Linked DNA regions of Homo sapiens: region 1 is linked to region 2. The links are contacts of gene promoters, found by promoter capture Hi-C in blood cells and fetal thymus (Javierre and others, 2016). All regions are on one chromosome and are shown on one strand. Each heading gives the region's core, a stretch centred on a gene start or on the middle of the fragment in contact. The rest is flanking DNA. Distances are from core to core; before and after follow the strand shown.

Region 1 (3,171 bases), core at 79-2,578, 480 kb after region 2:
TCATAGAGGCCTTCTCTTGTATTTGAGCCTCACTCTTATCTCACACTTCCTATTCCCCTTCTCCGCCTTATTTTTCTCCACCCCATGGAGACCCTCTGACACATTCTCCCGTTTGTCTGTCTTTCCCCCACGAGACTGCAAACTACAGGAGGGCAGAGATTTCTGCCTGTTCTCTTGGCTGTTTCATATCCAGCACCCAAATCGATGTATGACACAAAATACGTTCTCAGTACTTAATCGAATTAACGAATGCATGAATGGCAGGTATTGGACATTGTTTTGCAAACTCTTAAAGTAAGGTGTAAAGCATCCCGGTGAGGTGGAGGTTACTGCCGCTGCGATTCCCGCGCAGCCTGAGGACTGGGGGGTGGGGGTGGGGGTCTCTAATTACCTCCATAATCCCCAGTAGCGGCACTTTAAACTTCACATCAACCCTGAGGGATGTGTATTATTATCCAAATTTAGTTCACAGCTGGATGGAGAAGTGGCTTCCGGCTCCACACTTTGGAGGGAGGGGAGTAGAGGGCAGGCCCCCATTTAAGTACCCGGGATGGGGCACCAATGCCTTCAGGCGGTAAACCAATTTAGGAAGACGTGGCGGGCTTTGTGGCGGCTCCTCCTCTTTCGGCCTGTCCGCAGTTTTTAAAAAACGTGTGTGATGATAAGGAATCACTGTCTACATTAGTAATTCCCAACTTGGGTCCGAAAGTGAACTTTTGCTGAAGCGAAGTAGCTAACCGCTTCCATGTGCAAGGCAGGTTCCAGACTTCGGGGTGAGGAGGATTAACTGAAGGACCCCAGGGGAACCGGGTGCGCAGTAATTGATCTTGGGGCAGACCAGGGCTTGGCGGTGGCCTGTATCTAAAGACAGCGGGGTCTCTGAGGCGGGGCAGGGGGGAGTTGGCATTGACTGGGGAGGGAAGAGCGATCGCTGGTAACAGCCATTGTGCCTTCCCACTGGGTTAGTGGGAAGGTTCCTAAAGATGCCGTGGCAGCGACAGTCCCGTGCTCAGAGCCAGGCACACAGTAGGCGTTCACTCGAGACGCAGAGTCTGGGACGCGCCCTGAAGAAGCTCCTCTCCAGGGGCCTGGCCCTTCCCAAGGACTGGGCTCTGGGCGTCCCCGGGGTCATGGGTCAGACCTCGCGTCCGGGGTGCGGGCTGGTGCCTGGGCGCAGAGCGGCCGGCGTCAACGGGTAGGGCGCGGGCCCGGGGTCAAGGCCGGGGCGCCGGGCGGCACGGGCGCGGAGGCCGGACGCTCGGGGCCGCGAAGGGATGTGACGAGCGGCGCGCTGTGCATTGTGGGAAGCCGGCCGCGAGGACTGGTTCCAGTTCACTCGGCAGCGGCGCCGGGCGGAGGGGGAGAGCGCGGGCCGCGCGGGCGGGAAGCGAAGAGGCGGGCGGGCCAGCGAGGAGCGCGGAGAGAAAAGGCGCGAGCGGCCAGGAGGGCTCAGGCCGAGACACCTTGCAGCTGCCGCCGCCGCCACCGAGCCGCCGCGTAAGTGCCGCGCGGGCCCCCTTGCCGCACTCCCTGTCCCCGCCGCTCGGGTCCGGCCGCGGGTGCCCGGGAGCGGCCCGGCCTGGCGCGCACCGGTGTGGTGCGGGCCGGGCTCGGGCCGCCGGGTTCGGTGTGGCCCACGCCGGGTCCTCGCGCGTGCACTACGTCCTCCCAGGCCTTGTCGGGCCGCGCGGGATTCCCTTTGGTTTTGTTCAAAAAAGAAACCTGGAAACCAACTTCTCTTCGAAACGCATCCCCCTGCCCGCGCCTGGGCGCTTTTGTGGGAAAAAAGCGGTGCTGGCGCCTACCCTGGCGACCCTTCCTGGGGCGGGCTCACGGGCCAGGCCCGAGGCCGCAGGAGGCCCCGCGGCGCTGGCTAGGCAGTCTGGGCCTGGGCACCCGGGAGCTGCTGTGAGCAGAGTTGTACTTGGTGAGGCCCCCGCCGGCCCGCGAGTTGCCGGCCCCGGCACAATAAGTCGGGCCCGAGCCCCGGGGGGCCGAGGTGTAGGCGTCTGGCTCGCTATCTGCAGGGAGGGGAAGGCGGGGGCTACTCGCGGGATTGAAGCCGGGCTGGTGCGGGGGACCGGGTTGGGGAGTGGTCCAAGGATGGGCTGGAGAGGGGCCACGGGAACCCCCGCTGCTCCCGATTGTCTCGGTATCAGCCTTTTGTTTGCTTTGTGGTAGGAAGGGTTTGCTTTTTTTAAAAGGTAACTCCGGAAGGCTGTAGGCTTCCCCGGGTGGAGAAGGCCAGCAGGAAAGAGCCTCGCTGGGGGTGGGGTGGAGTGGGGAGGTGAGTGTGCAGGATGCTGCTGGCAGTGTCACCTGACAACAGGTGTGCGACATGGCGCTCCCTACCCCCACTCCTGCAGGGGCCACAGATCACTCAAGGAGTTGGTCAGTACATTGCTTGAAAGGTTCTTTTAGACAAGATGTTAGGGGAAATGTTTCTGAGTTTCAAAGTGAGAGACTTCTGTACAAACAACTGGGACAAACCTTGAATTCAACAATTACAATGACTATAAAGGCCTTGTAAGATTTTAATGACCCAGTAAACAGCACATAAGAATAGACAATTAGAGGGGGCACTCCTGCTAGCTTCCCTCTTTTCTTCCACCTTTGTGGTTTGAGGTTTTACCGTTAAAGTAGGGGGTAAGGGAAGTGTTTTGTTCCAAAGCTCCCTGCTCCAGGGAGTCGGGCATTTTTTAACAGTCTTAGGTTTGAATGGGAGACTCGAGTTGTAAATTAGGTGGAATTCACCTACTGCAGGCCACCTTTAGGCTACTAGCCTGTTGTCAGAGGTGTTAACTCTGAAATGGACACCTCTTGCCTGCAACTGGAATTAATACCCATTGTACACATTTAACTAGAGTTGGGCAGCAGCATCTCAGTCTTGCACAAGAGACTCTCTGATGAGGATGAGTATGTTTTCAAACTTATTTTTTCTTAAACACAACAAAACTCTTGAAAGACTTCAAATTCTTCCCCCTTCTAGTTTTACAAGGAGAGAGAAATCTTTCCAGTCTGTTCTTTGGCTTCGATCTGTCACCATTGTTAATGCTGATCCCTAGATAAGGCATTAAGAGGGTTGTCTAAATGAAAATTGTTTGAGGCAGGCCTTTAGAAGGAGGCATAATTTAACTCACATTTTATTAAACTTTAAGAATTGTCTGGAAC
Region 2 (3,048 bases), core at 88-2,587:
GAGCGCTTCGCCCAGAGTAGACCTTCCATAAACACATTAATTGAATCAGTGAATGGATGGATGGATGAGTAAATGAATGAATGAATAAATGAATTTTGGACGTGACAAAGGAAGAGCGTCTGAACTGAAAGAGTCCTGGTGCCTGCAGTTCAGGTTTCCTGGAGTGACAGGAAGGCTCCAGATTCCCCAGGGACAGCAACCCAGGGCAGCTGGCCCTGGTGCCTCCAGAAGCTGTCTACCTACAAATGCCCCCTCTGTCTGCCATTCAGCCTCATCTCACTGCCACAGCCCCTCCACAGCAGCTGCTTCCTTGGAGCCAAGATTACCAAGGTGCTCACCAGCCTGGTTATTTCAGATGGCAACTCTCCAAGTCAGAGCTATGGTCCATGTAGCCCAAGACGACCCTAACAGTGGGCAGAGAATGGCTCCAAAACTACCAGACTTTCCTTCTGTTTCTACTTGGGGATGCCTCGACAAGTCCATGGACTTTTGATTTTCCCCACCACAAAGGCTGCACCACTGATCATTCCTAAGTTGGTTACAAAGAGCTACTCAAATTGGTCACCATCGTCATTATTAATGCCTTTCTAACTCTTTCCTGTCACAAACTTCTTCCTCCATAGCAAGGTGAGAACAGATTGGAATGATGATGGGCTTTGGGCCTTGCACTCTATCTCTGCGAGCCACAGTCAAGAATGCTTGGGGAGGGGTGCTCCATTCAGCCAGAGCCCAAGCCAACTGGGAACTGGAGCCACCCCTGGGGCACTGGAGGAATCCTCTCTACCTTCTCCTGCTGCGGCTGCCAGAAAACTGCCTTTGAGACAACCTGATTGTTTTAGATGGTGTGATTATTTTTGTTTATGTTACTATTTATGTTCATAAGTAAACAGTCACATATACAAGCATACATAGATATGTACATACACATATATTCTTTTATACACTGTAAATGTTTTTGAAATGTATCACAAGAAACTTTACGGTAATTGCCTTTGAGCGAGGACAGGGACCACAGGCAGGGCATCGAGATAGTATATCCTCATGTAGTTTTGGAAGCTTCCTATGTTCATACATTACCAATTTTTGACTGATTAATACAAATTTTAAACAATTAACCTTGAACCGTCTGATCATGCAGTGGTTACTCAAGCTGAGTATTATTATCTTGACTTAAAACCTGTCTCTGAACCAACAGTGAGGACCAAACGCTATCGAGATTAAGAAACCAATCGTCTGACCTCAGCTGACTTCCAGGACTTCATTTTTTTAAAAGAGCACAGTAATTTTCAGAGGAAATAATATCAGCAATATATTTTGCCTCTACAGACTTTTTACGAATTATGACACATTAATATTTGGGGAAGTAGACAAAAACATCTCAAATAAAAATGAATCATCCACTTGAAACACTTTTATATCCCTCTATACTCATTGGCTGAATCACAAACTGTATTTCTGCTAAAAAAAAAAAAAAAAAAAAAAAAAAAAAAGAAGAAGAAAAAAAAGATACAAAAGACAATTGAGGCCGCACCAGGGCTGGGCTTCACCCTTCTGTCAGAGCAGCTCTTGTTAAAAATTTAAAAAAGGAATTTAAAATAATGAGAATAGGAAAGCTTTGAGTTTCTCCATCCTTAAAACATAAAGACAGAACTCAAGTTTCCTCCGTATCACATCTTCTTATACTAACCAGGGTCCAGCTTCTCCTCACATGCTATGATATCCTGCTCTTCATTCCCAGGGCACCACTAGGGTCTTGCTTAATGGGTAGTGACCAAAGGTGGATGCAACATTCCAGCTGCAATCTGGTCAGGGCAGAGGCCTCCACCTCCCTTATTCTACCCACTGTACTTCTATTAATGCAACCTTAGGACAGGTCTCACTGTTCGCTCACTGCCAACATTAGCTGATCAGAGAATGGGCTTTTTCTCTTTTGCTTACTGCTCTGTCCCCAGCTCCTAGAACTGTGCCTACCACATACTAGGTGCTCTAAAAATAAGCATTTGAAAACTAAAGCCCTTAGGCATTTTTCCCTAGAAGCCTTCATCAAATCGGATTGCCCCATCCTCTACAGAGATGATTGATCCATGATTGAATACTAAGGGCTGGACTTTACAGTGACTTCTGGTAGTTCTGTCTTTTAGTGTGGCCCTTTGATCTAGCTTTTGGATCTTGTCCCTCTCATGTGGCATGTTAGTTATTTACCTCAACACTGGGTCATCCAACTCTGGATCTTTCCCAAGTTGGGGGAGAGAGTAAAACAGGACGTCAGAAAACTTGCTGTAAGAGGCAGAGAAGGGGCAGTATAGAAATAGCTGTTGCCCGTGGTGGTGTGTGAGAAGCCCCTTGAGAGAGGTACAGGAGAAGCAAGCCAAGGACATGGATCCTGGGAATGGCAGCGGACTGCACTGGGCCTGGAAGGATGGGGCAGATTCATCTGGCAGGGCCTGGGGTGGGGCAGCCATGTGAGAAAAGACTCAGAGCTCCAGGGTAATACCGGTGCTAAAAAAATCAACACTGATAATACTAATGCAAATGAGAAATGGTTAACTCTTCCCTATGGGTTACATATTGAATGGAGTGCTTTTTGTATTAACCCACAAATGCCCCGCCCTTCATGGAAGGGATGATCATTCTGGGAGAAACTGAGGCCCTGAGACATGAAGCTGCTTGCTTGGATCCTGCCAGCTCACAGTAGCTACATCTGACTTTGAACCCATGTCTGCTGACTCTAAGAGCCACACCAAGAAAGCAAGGAGCCCGTGCAAGCAAGAGCCAGCAGGATAGTTCCTGCGGAGGGTGATGAATCTGTGTATTACCTTGGACACCAGACATGGAAGTCTGGTCTATCCTGGGGCAGCACCTTTTCAGGTGGTGGGAAGGGGTGTGTGTTAAGTTAAGCTCTTGAGCTGTAGGAAGAACAGAGGAGACACAGCCCAGGGAAACGTGTTGGAGGCTGCCTCCTCAGCCACGACCAGAGGTCTGGGGTCAGGGCTCAGGTGGGAGAGCAGAAGGCAGTTCACAGGGCCTGGAGCTGGTGAGATGAGCTGA

The links. Contacts are between HindIII fragments. The CHiCAGO score rates a contact against its expected background, and 5 or more counts as called.
Region 1: the fragment with the promoter of MACROH2A1 here is called in contact with a fragment that was not itself captured in region 2 in 1 of 17 cell types (M2 macrophages); the score reaches 5.9 in M2 macrophages.

Annotation. Positions count from the first base shown.
Region 1 is chr5:135,397,388-135,400,558 of GRCh38, reverse strand. It overlaps MACROH2A1 (macroH2A.1 histone), which reads left to right and starts at 1,328. Exons shown (of 9, transcript NM_138610.3): 1 at 1,328-1,497. RefSeq lists enhancers at 71-576, 577-1,082 and silencers at 983-1,442, 1,453-1,622, 1,933-1,992. The HindIII fragment of the contact is 9,460 bases long and covers 1-3,171 here.
Region 2 is chr5:135,874,574-135,877,621 of GRCh38, reverse strand. The region is part of intron 6 of SLC25A48 (solute carrier family 25 member 48); the gene reads right to left. Among named protein-coding and RNA genes, the nearest start is that of IL9, 20 kb to the left of the region's middle. RefSeq lists an enhancer at 1-64. The HindIII fragment of the contact is 557 bases long and covers 1,059-1,615 here.